Linked DNA regions of Homo sapiens: regions 2, 3 and 4 are each linked to region 1. The links are contacts of gene promoters, found by promoter capture Hi-C in blood cells and fetal thymus (Javierre and others, 2016). All regions are on one chromosome and are shown on one strand. Each heading gives the region's core, a stretch centred on a gene start or on the middle of the fragment in contact. The rest is flanking DNA. Distances are from core to core; before and after follow the strand shown.

Region 1 (3,616 bases), core at 341-2,840:
CCTCCTCCCGGCTGTCAGCTGCCACACGCAGGAATTTGTTGGTTTTGTTCAGCTGTTCCCGTGGGCCTGGTGGGCACTGGCTGGCAGGAAGAGCCCATGTGCATGCAGAGGTGGGTGCGTCTCATCCCGACCAGGCCATGCTCCGTCCTGCTGGTGCCCGCCAACCCCTCTGTCCTCAGACAATCTTCTAGAATGAGCGAAGGGCCTGAACAGGTGATTCACTCAAGAAAGAGGAATGTAGGGGCCCCGCCAGCGTGGATTGCATGCTTGGCCTGGTCCTGGTGCTCAAGAAGGCTCTTCCTTTTGTCATGGGACCCATACTCTAAGCATCCTCAATTACATACAGGATCAGAGAGGGCAAGTCATTTGCCCACGGCTCCACAGCTGCCTGACCCCACAACCCGTGCTGTAAACACACATGCTGCAGGCATCAGTGTGGTGGAATTGAAAACAGCCACGAGGCACCTTTTCCTGTGCATTTTGGGGAACTTGCCCTCCATCTGGCAGCCTCAATCCAAAATTTCTCCCTCCCCCGTTTCCCAGTTGCTGAGAAAGGGCTCCACCACCCATGCTGCCACCCGCACGAGGAACCAGGTGTCCCCGCCCATGCTCTGCCCTGAGGCTCAGCCTCCATCAGTTCTCATCAGGGCGATGCCAGGCCCCCAGGCCGGGCCCTAGGCCCAGTCTTGCCCTCTGATGCCACCTGCTCAGCTCCAGGGCCCAGGTGTGCTGGCGCCTGTGTGCAGGGGTGGCCCAGTGTGAGGACAGCAGGTAGCTACCCCTCCCCTGTACACAGCCCAAGTGACCAACACAGATGTCGACTGGGCCTTCACTGAGCCTTCTTAGCCATCCCCTGGGACCCGGCGAGCACCCGCACCCCAGCCTCTGGCTACACCATGGGGCACAGGCCTGCTCCCCCAGCCTCTCCTCTACTTGGTCACATTGCCCATTGGGTTTTTTTCTTTTTTTTTGTTTTTTTTCCTTTTTTGAGACAGTCTCACTGTCACAAGGCTGGAGTGTAGTGGCGCAATCTCGTCTCACTGCAACCTCCGCCTCCCGGGTTCACACCATTCTCCTGCCTCAGCCTCCCAAGTAGCTGGGAATACAGGTGTGCGCCACCACGCCTGGCTAATTTTTTGTATTTTTAGTAGAGACGGAGTTTCACCATGTTGGCCAGGATGGTCTTGATCTCTTGACCTCGTGATCCATCCGCCTCAGCCTCCCAAAGTGCTGGGATTACAGGCGTGAGCCACCATGCCCGGCCTGCCCAGGGGTTTTCAAACCATGAAAAGATCAAGTGAATTCTTTGCAGAGCACAAGAGACTCAGCTGGGGCTCAAACCCGGGGATGCTGGACTCAGCCCCTGGAGGCCCCTGCCCAAGCCTGGGCCTGGAGGAGAAAGGCAATGGTCGAAGGCCACCTGGGTTAGCCCGGCTCAGCTAAGGCCACAGCTGCTGCCATCCCAGGCTTCCTGGCCAGCCCTGCACCGACACATCTTGCCCACTCCCAGGGAAGGGATTATCGCCCCAAGGTCTCCAGATAACAGCAGGCACACAGGGCTATAACGGGGACCGGCAGACAGGCGTCCTACACCCCTGCCAGCGGCACCATGGCTTTCCTCTGGCTCCTCTCCTGCTGGGCCCTCCTGGGTACCACCTTCGGTGAGTGCCAGGCCCTGCGGAGGCCGAAGGGTTTTCTCCTCTCACTCCCAGCCCCGAGGCCAGCAAGAGGCAGCAGGGTCCCAGCTCCCAGTTCAGCTGTGCACCGCAGTGTGGGCCTGGGCGAGTCACCGGCTCCATCTCTGCCGTGGGCGCTGAGAGGTCAATGCCTCCCTCCCAGGCTCAGCTGCCGCCTCTGAGCTCAGGAGATGGGGAGTCCCGCTCCCCTTCCTCACCCCCAGCAGACCTGAGGCTCTCAGGGGAGGAGGCGGGGGGAGGAGGCAGGTGTCCGGGGGCTGCCCTGAGGCCTTCGGGAAACCCCCAAACAGTCAGCGGCCCCAGCACAGGTTTGGGTGGTGAATGTGTGGGCAGCTGGGGCTTGGCACCGTTCAGTCCAAACCTTTCAGAACCTCGAGCCTCACCCTCTTAAACTCCTGCTCACGGAGCACTTCCCGGGTGCCAGGCGCAGAGCTGGCGCTCTGCCTGCTCACTCTACCAAACCTGTGAGGTCAGAAACAGCGTGATCCCCACTTTGCTGATGGGGACACTGAGTGGCTTAGCTGGGCAGGGAGGGAGCCAGGTTCAAACCCACAGAGTCTGGCCTCCCAGACTGAGCGCCGGGGCTGCCGCCCACCGCACGCTCCACCTGTGTGACTTCTCCGAACTGAGGTGGGGCCAACACCCCATTCCTCAGCAGCCCACAGCCCAGTTCATTGGACTCAGTTGTACCTGGGGATTCCAGCTCTGCGGAGAGGAGAGCCAGGGCCAACTTCTCAGAGAAGGGGATGTGGGAGCCAGTCTAGGTCCCAGAGACTGGAAAAGAGTTGGGAGTGAGAGGAGGCTGGAGCATTAGGACCTGGGTGGGTGGTACCCACCCCTCAGCCCACTCCCGCCCCCAGGCTGCGGGGTCCCCGCCATCCACCCTGTGCTCAGCGGCCTGTCCAGGATCGTGAATGGGGAGGACGCCGTCCCCGGCTCCTGGCCCTGGCAGGTGTCCCTGCAGGTGAGGGGGTTCTGCAAGGTGGGGGGCACCCTGGGTAGGGGCCAGGCTGGGGGTGCCCCCGGGTGGGAGGTGCTGACCCTCCCCATCTTGCTCACAGGACAAAACCGGCTTCCACTTCTGCGGGGGCTCCCTCATCAGCGAGGACTGGGTGGTCACCGCTGCCCACTGCGGGGTCAGGTGAGGACCGGGCAGCCTTGGGCTCCGCTTCCAGCACCGGTCGGGTGGGAGGGGAGCAGGGCATGTTCTCTCACCCACAACGCTCTGCCCAGGACCTCCGACGTGGTCGTGGCTGGGGAGTTTGACCAGGGCTCTGACGAGGAGAACATCCAGGTCCTGAAGATCGCCAAGGTACCCAGGCCCCGTGCAGCAGAGGGCAGGGCCGTGGGCACGGGGGGAGACCCCTCGGCTGCTTCAGGGACAGGCGCCCAGTGGGGCCGGGCCGGCCTCGTGATTCCCATTCCGGCCCTGGGGATGGACTGCTCCTTAACGGGCACCAGGGAAGGAGTCTGTCCTCGAAGCCTGCAGGTCCTGCCTCCTCCCAGGGCCTCACCCCGGCACTCTGGCCCCCACCCCCAGGTCTTCAAGAACCCCAAGTTCAGCATTCTGACCGTGAACAATGACATCACCCTGCTGAAGCTGGCCACACCTGCCCGCTTCTCCCAGACAGTGTCCGCCGTGTGCCTGCCCAGCGCCGACGACGACTTCCCCGCGGGGACACTGTGTGCCACCACAGGCTGGGGCAAGACCAAGTACAACGGTGAGGGGCCGCGGGGCTGCCTCTGGGGTCTGGGCTGCCTGGCCGTGGAGTCCCCCCGTGACCGTTTGGCTCTAAATTCCAACACGCTCCTAACTGCCCGTTCGTTATTGAAAATCTTCTGAATTTAAAATCCCCCAAATGCAAATAAAATCCAGGTCGGATCATGAGGAGCCTGCACAGGGAGCTTCTGAGCAGCGC
Region 2 (3,616 bases), core at 634-3,133, 230 kb before region 1:
TTGATTATGTTGGACAGGCTGGTCTCAAACTCCTGACTTCAAGTGATCCACCCGCCTCGGCCTCCCAACGTGATGGGACTATAGACATGAGCCATCATGCTTGGCCTTCTTGATTCTTGAATACGGGGTTTTGAGGTGAAAGCATTTCATGAAAACTTAAGTTCATACACAAGAGCATCATGAATATTCTAAAAGAGGTATCTGTGCTTTTTTTGTGACCACAAAATATTACTTCTTATGAAATGTTTACACTAGGTGAGGAAAAGTTCATTAATTACCTTTAAACCGTTCCTTATTTTTTTTAAGATTTTAAATTGTATTTTGGCTTTTGCCTCCAGTATCCTTTCTGGTTGCTCTGGTTTGAATTAAGTTCCTATTATGCTGCAGCACATATCAACCTTCCCTAAGTAACCATTTCCTGGAATGTGAAGCATCGGTGCCATTAGCAGACCATATGCAGAAATGTCGTGTACTTGCATTTCTTTTTTGTGCACTCTATAAGGCTGGTTGTGACTCAGATCAGCTTAACTTTTTATATTATGTTATTTCACTAACTGCTACAGTCAAAATGATCAAATCTTTGTACAATAGAAAATTATTTAAATTTTATTTTTCTACTGACATTTCTAATTCTAGTGTAAATGTTTATCAATAAAAAATTACTTTCAATTCTGAGTTGGAATTATATTTCTTTTTGGTGGCTAATGAGTTTAATCTTTTGTAATAAAATTGACTTCAGTTTTCATTTTTTAAATAACTTAATATCTAGCATGTGTAACTTTTTTTATGTTCTACTTCTTACTAATTTATGATAAAATTCTTGTTCAAAGTTGTGATTAAACCGTACTTAACATGTGAACTTGAAATTCTTATTAACTCTACTTGCTGGGCCATATATTCCCATCAAGAAACTTTTGTTTGATTCTGTGCAGGAATAGGTGAGTATTGATACAGTGTGTGAAAATGTATTATTTTAATAGTAAGTCCACATGAAGAGAAGCTTCGTCGTGTTTGGTTAATTTAATACCCTTGGTGACATCATAAATCTCACTGTTCTGCCATTTTTAACAAATGGGACTAAGTTGGGTAGTTTACCTCATGGTCACAAGATTGCTGCAGTTCCAGCCATTGCAGACACATACAGAGAATGTCTGGCAGGAGATTGCCCATTCATTCCTTCTAATTTTCTAAAGTTGAGGTTTAACATGCAGTAAAGTGTACAAATCTTAAAATGTATAGCTTAATGAATTTTACATATATATATATATATATATATATATACTTAATGTGACTAATAGATCAAGAGACAGAATGTTTCTAGCACCCCGGAAAGATACGTACACAGTTCAGACAGAAGACCCCAAGACTGTATATGTATCTGGGAGTAAAGGTGCTGAGATCGGCAGGGAGGACACCCTAAATTATTACCGAGAAAACAGAACAGTGAACCAGGAATCTTTAGGGAGTTGGAGGGATTTGTGCTGTGGCCAAGTGGAGAGCCCTGTCCGAAGGAGTCAGCTATTGCTTGGCTCCAGCCTGTTTCTGCTTTATTCGATGATTAACCCAATCTTGCCAGATACTTATTTTCAAGAGAAGCTGGAAATCTAGGTTACTGTTTGAAATCTCTCCATTTTTAAGTGTTAGCAACTAATTTAAACTTGCGTAAAACACTTTTATTATTTATTTATTTATTTAGAGACACAGTCTCGCTCTGTTGCTCAGGCTGGAGTATAGTGGCGCGATCTTGGCTCACTGCAATCTTCACCTCCCAAGTTCAAGTGATTCTCCTGCCTCAGCCTCCCAAGTAGCTGGGATTACAGATGTGCGCCCCCAAACCTGGCTAATTTTTGTATTTTTAGTAGAGACGAGGTTTCACGGTGTTGGCCAGGATGGTCTCGAACTCCTGACCTCAAATGGTCCGCCCACCTTGGCTTCCCAAAGTGCTGGAATTACAGCCGCGAGCCACCTGTAATTGTGCGCCTTGCCGTAAAACACTTTTAAGTCATTACAATACATGATTTTAAGCTGGATTTGGCCTGCTCACCACCAATTTTTTTTCCATCTCAACTATTAGAAAGTAATTCCCACTCTGATTACCCTTAAAGCGGTCAGGAACTCTAGTTGTAAATCTGAACAATCACATGGAGTGCTAGGAGAAATGGGTGCTGGGGAGTGTCTGCCAGAGAACGCAGTGGCTCCTGTTCCCCAGACTCACCCCCAGTGATAGGGCAAAAGGGTACATCCTGATTTGTGGCTGTAGGACACCATTTATGCTGTCCAAGGTAAATGACGCCAAGAATGGTCAACTTCCAAATACTGGGTTCAAATTTTACATCTATTTTTCTATTACTCTCCCATAAGAAAAGTGTGCTTAGGCCGGGTGCAGTGGCTCATGCCTGTAATCCCAGCACTTCGGGAGCCCGAGGCGGGCAGATCACCTGAGGTCAGGAGTTCCAGATCAGCCTGACCAACATGGAGAAACCCTGTCTATACTAAAAATACAAAATTAGCCACACGTGGTGGTGTATGCCTGTAATCCCAGCTACTTGGGAGGCTGAGGCAGGAGAATCGCTTGAACCCAGGAAGCAGAGGTTGCAGTGAGCCGAGATCACGCTATTGCGCTCCAGCCTGGGCAACAAGAGCGAAACTCCATCTCAAAAAAAAAAAAAAAATGTGCTTAAATGGATCATAAACCTAAACGCAAGAACTACAACTCTTAGAAAAAAATAAGCGTAAATTTTATGATCTTGGCTTAGGTAAAGCTTTCTTAGATACAATTCCAAAAGCACAAGGGAAAATAAACAAAAAATAGATAAATTGGACTTCATCAAAATTAAAAACGACTTTGAAGGACACCTTCAAGAAAGTATGAATAGCCAGACACGGTGGCTCATGCCTGTAATCCCAGCAATTTGGGAGGCCCGGGTGGGAGGACTGGTTTAGGTCATGAGTTTGAGATCAGCCTGGGTAACACAGCAAGACCCTATCTTTACAAAATATGTGTATTTTTAAAAGTTAGCTGGGTGTGGTTGTGTGCACCTGAAGTTCTAGTTACTCAGGAGGCTGAGGTGGGAGGATTGCTTGAACCCAGGAGTTGGAGGCTACAGTGGGGCTATGCACCACTGCACTCCAGCCTGGGCAATAGAGCAGGATGCTGTCTTTCAAAAAAAGTGGAAACCTCACAAAATATGAGGAAATATGTTCAAGTCACAAAGGACTGGACCAGCCTGGTGGTGGACCAACTGGACCAACATGGTGAAACCCCGTCTTTACAAAAGGTATAAAAGTTAGCTAGGCGTGGCCAGGCGCGGTGGCTCACACCTGTAATCCCAGCACTTTGGGAGGCTGAGGCGGGCGGATCACAAGGTCAGGAGATCGAGACTAGCCTGGCCAACATGGTGAAACCCTGTCTCTACTAATAATACAAACATTAGCCGGGTGTGGTGGTGCATACCTGTAATCCCAGCTACTCAGGAGGCTGAGGCAGGAGAATCGCTTGAACCTGGGAGGTGGAGGTTGTGGTGAGCCAAGATCATGCCATTGCACTCCAGCCTGGGCAACAACAGCAAGACTCAGTCTCAAAAAAAAAATAATAATAATGATAATAATAATTAGC
Region 3 (3,616 bases), core at 1,117-3,616, 210 kb after region 1:
CCTAAATTAGTCACTAATCGTTTCTCCCCCAACACTATTTCACAAATTAAAGTTTACAGAATTGACAAAAAACCAAACCAAATGAAAACAAACCCCAGGCTATTTGCAGGGGGGGGGAAAGAGATACCCCAAAAGTCAACCCTATTTCACAGTAGTTAAAAGAGTGATCCAACAGATATTACCCTCCATAAAGTACCCTAAAGGCAGGAGCAATCTTTCCCCTACACTATCTAAATTTTCCCAACTCACCCAAAAGAATCTTAAGATGTAACTTCATCACTCAACTTGCCAATTAGCAAATAGCGGCCCCCACATCCCTTTTGGCCAATTTTCTAGATGCCTGACCTAGCAGACAGACCTGTTTTCCTCCTGCCAGGCCTTTTTTGCCCTCCCGCTAGGAGCCTGGGAAATCCCCCTCCAACCTTTTGCTGGCCTGTCACCAGAAGTTCATAAAATGAATTCATCCAGATTCTCTGAATCCTCCTTTTCCCCAGTCATGTGCCAACAGCCAGGCAATAATGCCCCACCGTGACAGGCTCCCTGTTACAAAAAGATGCAGATTCACGGGAAGACCAAGCACTTAGCATGGAGCAGAAGAAAAAAAGATGGAGGGAGGCGAGAGTCGCGGAGCCAAGCCTGCTGCATGCAGTACGGGTGACCACAGCCCGGGTCCTGCAAAGCCCCCGCGAGACTCGCCGGCTGGGCCCTCCGTACAGCAGCCACACCTGTCTATGCCAGCCGCCTGCCGGCTGCTCCATTTTAAACATTTCAAACAGATCTCCAGCAGGGTGGCAAAACTGGGCACCTCTCTCTCCCAGCAAGAGTGAGAGCCCTAATCCAGGCATCACTTGCCCCTGATTTTATTTCATTTTCACACACTCTGTTTAGGAGACACTGCTTGCTCCAACTGGCTCCATCTCTCCGTTACCGGTGAGGCAGGCACAGTGCTGCAGTGGCAGAATGGAAGTACCCAGGCTGACTTGCTCTCAGCCAGACACGACCTCTTCTCTGAGGAGGGTGATGCCAATAAATGGAACTCCAATAGGTAGGCTTCGCTCTGCCCTTCCACAAGTGAACACACGCCGTGAGTCCCTAAATCGCCAGGCTCCGCAGCCTCGCAGAAAGCCTAGTTTCCAGACGGTAGGTATCCCATTTATCCCTTGGCATCGGGAACCAAAGGGAATGCAGACAGATCCCGGTCGTGCACTACATTCCCAAACCTTGGCACGCACGCGAAGGCTTGGGGCGCCCCGGCGCGCCCTCCCTCCGAGGCCTCCACCACCCGCGGACTCACCACTATGCGAGCTGAACCACCTGGGTGCGATGTGCAGAGGTAGAGCATCCGCCAGCGAGGCTCGGGAGCCCAGGTACAGCATCCCGTCTCTATGGTGACCGCCGCCCGTCTCCTGGTAACCATTGCCATGGGCATAGGTGGAGTCGGACGCAGACCCTCCGCCGCCGGGCGCCCTCTCGGAGTCGCCGGTGCCCCGGGAGGCGGGGGTGTAGAGGCCAAAGGGCACCCCCCCGGCCGTGCTGGGGTCCATGCCCATGCCTGCCACCGAGCTGACCGAGCGGCTGCGCAGCCCCATGGCCCCGCCGCCCGTCCGGTAGTGCCCGAAATGGGGCGCCCCTCCCGGCGGCGGCACGGCGCTGTCATCGGTGGAGACCCCCGGGAAGGGGCCCCGGGAGCGGGCCGCCGTGCTCTGCTTGCCCCCCATGCTCGCCCGGGCCCCGGTGGGGCGGGAACCTGGAGGCCGAGACCCTCCCCCACTTCTCAGCAGCAGGGGGAGGGCTGGGCGAGCATAAAGGGGGAGGGAGTCAAAAAGGAGACCCGGAGGGAGAAAAGGAAAAAAAGCAAAAGGAAAAAAGGAAAAAACCCGCGGGGCGGAAGAGGCAGGCGGGCGGGCGGGGATCCCAAACTCAGAATTTCAAACGATCCAAGGCAAACGCATGTTTCCCCTCAAGGTCCAAAGAGGCGCAGTCCGGCGCGGGCTCCGCGCGCCACAGGCCGCCCCCGGGCTCCGAAAGCCGGGGGAGCCGCAGGGAAGGAGGGAGGGAGGCGGCGGCGAGCGGCGGGCGGGCGCGGGGAGGCGCCGGAGGAGGCCGCCCGCCCCGCGGGAGGAGGCGGAGGAGGGCCGGGGGCGCCGGGCGCGTCCCCCGCCTCAGGACGCCGCGACCATGGACGGCGGCCCGGACCCCTCCAGGCCTCGGGCGGGCCGCGGCGCTGGGCGGCCAGGCGCAGCTCGGGAAGCCGCGGTCGCGTCGCGTCGCGCTCTCGCTTCAGCCGCCGCCGGCCCCGCCAGCCGCGCCGCCCCGCTCGGTCCCGGGCTGCGCTCGCCGGCGCTCCTCGCCGCCGTGGAGACAATGGAGGGCGGCAGAGCGCAGGCGCGGCCCGCGCCCCCTCCCCCTCCCCCCGCCGGGTTAACCCTTTCGCGGTCCCTGCGGCGCCTGGGCCGCTGACGCCCCAGCAGTCCCCACCCACCGCCCGCCCCCGGCCGGCCTGTGACCTGGGCGGCCTGACCACTGGGCGTTAGCCACAGAAACCAGATGTCTTTCAAAAGCAAACACTTCTTAAGTCCCCGAAAGTGGCAAATTATTCAGGGGGAACCAAGTATGGGGGAGGGGCAGCAATGGTTCGAGGGGGTGGGAAGGAAACACCGGGAAGAAGGAGATTTACTCCTTACGCCTACCTGGCTCTGAGGGTCACCGGTCGAGCTCCCCTCCTGGCACAAATTTGCCCCCACAGCACCCTCTGGTGGACGTGATGTCCATTCTTTCGGGGGTTCCCCATCCAAGCACCCCTCACGTCCGGAATCTCAACATTTGGCGGGGTTTAGTTATTTGGGGGTAAACAGCGCCATGGGGACACTTGTGAATCCGGCGTTTTGCTGACACTAGATCATAACTTCCTATTTTGGGCTTAAGCAAATGAGTAGATTCCTTAGCTAAAATGTAATTTTCAGAATCAATAGATGTACCATAAAAAGTGAATAGATATGGGTATGGAAATAGAACAACGCAGCTAGAAGTGATTATAGAAACCTTCTGTCCAAGGCTGGAGCCCTGTTTTGTTTACCATGTGCTGTGTTTCGGCCCTCACCACGGGCCAAGGACACGGTGGGTACTCAATAGGTGTATTGTTGACCAAGCCTGAATCATTTGCAAGGGAGTGTTCCTTTGCTACCTCAAGCCGTCTTTCTCCTATATTCACATTCATTTATTGAACAACTGTTTTTTTTGTTTTGTTTTGTTTTTGTTTTTGAGACGTAATCTCGCCCTGTCACCCAGGCTGGAGTGGTGTGGCGTAACCTCGGCTCACCGCAACCTCCGCCTCCCGGATTCAAGTGATTCTCCTGCCTCAGCCTCCCGAGTAGCTGGGATTACAGGCACATGCCACACTGCACCTGGCTAATTTTTTGTATTTTTAGTAGAGGCGGGGTTTCACCGTATTGGCCAGGCTGGTCTTGAACTCCTGACCTCAGGTAATCCACCTGCCTTGGCCTCCCAAAGTGTTAGGATTACAGGCATGAGCCACCGCGCCCGCCCTGTTTTTCTTTTTCTTTTTTTTCTTTTCTTTTTTTTTTTTTTTGAGACGGAGCCTTGCTCCTCCCAGGCT
Region 4 (3,616 bases), core at 733-3,232, 150 kb before region 1:
CAGCTTGTGTTGTAGGTCGAGATTGGCTGCATTATTATGTTACATGGTTTCTTGAGCCATGGTGAGCATATTTTCCAAACCAAAAATCAGCATAGCTATTCGGACAGTATTTTTTAAGTCAAATGTAATTACACATTTAGAAGTAAAATTAAAAGTTGAGACTGTCCAGGAAAACCCAGAACATAGGGATGCCTTGCCTGGAAGACGGGAGGTTGACTCCTCAAAGGAGAAGTATGCTGAACTTTAAACTTGACCCCCCTTGCCTTTCAGCACAGTGTTGATATCAGCCCTCCTAGAGGTGCAGCTGGGCCCCGCCTTTCTACCCAAAGTAGGATGCTACACCATAGGCCATAGGCAAGACCACTGATCTGTATGGAGACTTGATTTTTAGTATGAAGGATATTTTTTGCCTGGCCTTGAAGCCTGTAGGGCAGACATGGAAAAGGAAATGACAGTACTGACCCAGGACTGTCCCGTCTGACTTATTACCCAATTTGTGTAGATCATGCAGTCTAGGAACTAGCAAGCATTCGATTGCGGCAAAAGCATCTCCGAATGAATAACTTCATTGAATTCTTGGGTTTTTCTGAGTTCCTTCATTTTGTACAAATGACTTCCTGTAGGTATGGGAATTATTGGTCAAGACAGGCTCTTTTGCTTGTTTTCCTGAGGCCACGCTTTCAGCTCATGCCGTAGCAGAATAGGAGAAGGAAGAGAGCGAAAAATAATAGTAAAATTCTGAAAACAAATACAAGGAAACCTGGGACCCAAAGAGGAAACAGACGTTGAGAAATTCAAAAAGAAACCAGACAAGGAGAGAACATGTTCATGTGTTCAGAGTTGTTTTCTACAGTGTATTTATGGAGGGTGCAAGTGCCTTTTGACAGTTCTATTGTGTATTGTAAAAAAACTTTTTTTAATTCTTTGAGTTTTTTACATGTTTATCCCTTCCTAAGTTGATTTGTGTGTCTTTTTGGTTTTGTTTTTCTTTTTGAGACATAGTCTTGCTCTGTTGCCCAGGCTGGAGTGCAGTGGCATGATCTCAGCTCACAGCAACCTCCGCCTCCCAGGTTCAAGCGATTCTCATGCCTCAGCCTCCTGAGTAGCTGGGATTACAGGCGTGCGGCACCACACTTGGCTAATTATTGTATTTTTAGTGTACGTGGGGATTCACTATGTTGTCTAGGATGGTCTTGAACTCCTGACTTCAAGTGATCCACCTGCCTCGGCCTCCCAGAGTGCTGGGATTACAGGTGTGAGCCACCGCGCCCGGCTTTAAATTTAAACAATATCTGACTTGCCTGGGTGTGGTTACTCATGCCTGTAATCACAGCACTTTGGGAGACTGTGGCGGGTGGATCACTTGAGGCCAGAAGATCGAGAGCAGCCTGGCCAACATGGCAAAACCCCATCGCTACTAAAAAATACAAAAATTAGCCGAGTGTGGTGGTGCGTGCCTGTATTCCCAGCTACTACAGAGGCTGAGGCAGGAGAATCACTTGAACCCAGGAGGTGGAGGTTGTAGTAAGCCAAGATCACGCCACTACACTCCAGCCTGGGCCATAGAGTAAGACCCTGCCTCAGAAAAAAAGAAAAGAAAATTGGTGAATGGGTGGAATGTTTGAAAGAATAGCCAAAAATGTATCTTAACATTGGATGATGTTTCTAGAGATGGTGTGGAAGATCAACTGCTGTTTCTTACTATTTCTTTTTAAAAAAGAATTCTTATGTGAATCTTTTTAACATCTTACCTGTAATATTTTTATGGTTTGTTTAATGGTCAGTTGTTAAATTTGTCTATTGAAAATTAACGTTGCTTAAATATTACATATAAATTAAGGTAGCTTGTTCTTTTAAGCACATCAAACATCTTAAGAGATAAAATATAAATACAATTATTAATAAGACTTATTCTGTGTGGTTTGGGGTAAACTAGTGGCAAATTTCCAGTTATCTTGATTTTCAACAATTTCTACTAGAAGGGATTTTATTCAGCCACAGGAAAGTTATTGTTATGTATGCTCTGTTTTTGTCTTTAACTTATGCTCCCATTGGGGGTTAATGCGATATAAGAAGAGGGGTAGTATTCCTTTCCATGTACAAAAACCTGTTTTGGACCCTCTGGTGCTAAATTATTTTTACAAAATTAGTTTTGTTTCGGTTTCCTTCAGTTAACCATAGTTATTTTCTTTTTGAAGCTCAGATTGTCATAGATTGGCTAATGGCATTGTCTTTGAGCTGATTCCTTTGTCCTTTTGACACTAACTCTGGCAGTCTGAAAAGTATTCTTACTTTCTGGCAGTGCTAGAAAATACCAGAATGGTCTTTATTGTTTTTTTGCCCCAAGACATGGAGTCATCTCCCATCTAGGTTCCTGGTTCCTTTAGTGGAAAGTAATATTAGAAACCAAAATCTGGGCTGGGCGCAGTGGCTCATGCCTGTAATCCCAGCACTTTTTGGGAGGCCAGGATGGGAGGATTGCTTGAGGCCAGAAGTTCAAGACAGGCTGCCCAACATAGTGAGACCCCCTTCTCTACCAAAATTTTAAAAATGAGCATGCATCTGTAGTCCTAGCTATTGGGAAGGCTGAGGCAGGAGGATCATCTGAGCCCAGGAGTTTGAGGCTGCAGTGAGCTAAGAAGGTGCCACTGCACTGCTGTTGTCTCTCAGCAGATCATTTTCAGCTTTCTTTGGAGAGTAGCCATTAGCAATGCAAATGTGAAGTTTGATAGCACAATAAATAAAACACTGAAAACTGTAGATGTTACTTATAAAACACTGGCACTCAGATAAATTGGGTTTGGTCAAGAAGACAGTGAAGCATATCCCTGTTGGGCCAGAGGCTGTTATCGTTTTGCTCTGAATTCAAAACCTGATATGTCTCCAAATTTGCTTAGGGTTGTTATCCTGGAAAATAGAATCTGATAGAAGGTGGGCACTGGTACCAAGTGCAAGGTGGAGGTGATCATGGTTAGGGCAATTGCATACAGGTCATGACTGCATTGGAGTCTCAGGAAAGATTGGTTTAGTGATTTGGCAAATCCAAGGCATGAGTTTTGGGTGGTTTTGTTGTTTTGTCTTATTTTTCCACCCCTTAAGAGTCTTAGGGGAAAACAGCATCATTGAATAGACTAGCTAAAAATTCAGCACTTAATACCCTTCACAGCGTATTAGCCTCTGCAGAGCTTTGCTATTTTGGAACCAGTGGTGTGAATTATTCTCTGTTAATAAGAATCTGGCTTTCTTTTCCTGTTGGAAAAGAGGCTCGTGTGCATGTTACTCTGACTCAGTAGTTCTCAAACTTTTTGTTCTCAGGACCTCTTTACGCTCTTCAAAATTATTGACTGGGTTATAACTGTTGTTATTTATAGTATAAGAAATTAAAATAAACTAGTATATTTTTAAAATTTAGAATAGCATGATTTTGTAAATTTCTTTAATATCTCGCTTAATCGAAGATAGCTGGAGTGTCAGATCTGCTTTTCCATTCAGTCTATTTTAATCAGTTGTTTTGGCTGAATTATATAAAGAAAATTTAGTCTCACTCAAATATGTAGTTGGAAAAGGAAGGAGTATTTTACTAGCTGTTTTGATAATTTTGGTTATCCTTTTGTGA

The links. Contacts are between HindIII fragments. The CHiCAGO score rates a contact against its expected background, and 5 or more counts as called.
Region 2: a contact is called between a fragment that was not itself captured here and the fragment with the promoter of CTRB2 in region 1, in 1 of 17 cell types (M1 macrophages). The highest score is 5.3, in M1 macrophages.
Region 3: the fragment with the promoter of ZNRF1 here is called in contact with the fragment with the promoter of CTRB2 in region 1 in 2 of 17 cell types (M1 macrophages and M0 macrophages); the score reaches 5.2 in M1 macrophages.
Region 4: a contact is called between a fragment that was not itself captured here and the fragment with the promoter of CTRB2 in region 1, in 3 of 17 cell types (naive CD8 T cells, fetal thymus and naive B cells). The highest score is 6.1, in naive CD8 T cells.

What each region holds. Positions count from the first base shown.
Region 1 is chr16:75,205,135-75,208,750 of GRCh38, reverse strand. It overlaps CTRB2 (chymotrypsinogen B2), which reads left to right and starts at 1,590. Exons shown (of 7, transcript NM_001025200.4): 1 at 1,590-1,661; 2 at 2,558-2,661; 3 at 2,759-2,838; 4 at 2,931-3,009; 5 at 3,238-3,418. The coding sequence starts at 1,610. RefSeq lists an enhancer at 1-108 and a silencer at 1,781-2,000. The HindIII fragment of the contact is 10,617 bases long and covers 1-3,616 here.
Region 2 is chr16:75,440,297-75,443,912 of GRCh38, reverse strand. TMEM170A (transmembrane protein 170A) reads left to right here. Exons shown (of 3, transcript NM_145254.3): 3 at 1-859. Among named protein-coding and RNA genes, the nearest start is that of CFDP1, 8.6 kb to the right of the region's middle. The HindIII fragment of the contact is 1,762 bases long and covers 1,003-2,764 here.
Region 3 is chr16:74,997,774-75,001,389 of GRCh38, reverse strand. ZNRF1 (zinc and ring finger 1) reads right to left here and starts at 2,366. Exons shown (of 5, transcript NM_032268.5): 1 at 1,295-2,366. The coding sequence starts at 1,718. RefSeq lists an enhancer at 495-554 and silencers at 1,345-1,654, 2,055-2,574. The HindIII fragment of the contact is 6,289 bases long and covers 1-3,616 here.
Region 4 is chr16:75,358,994-75,362,609 of GRCh38, reverse strand. All of the region lies in intron 5 of CFDP1 (craniofacial development protein 1), which reads left to right. Among named protein-coding and RNA genes, the nearest start is that of CFDP1, 73 kb to the left of the region's middle. The HindIII fragment of the contact is 4,280 bases long and covers 1-3,616 here.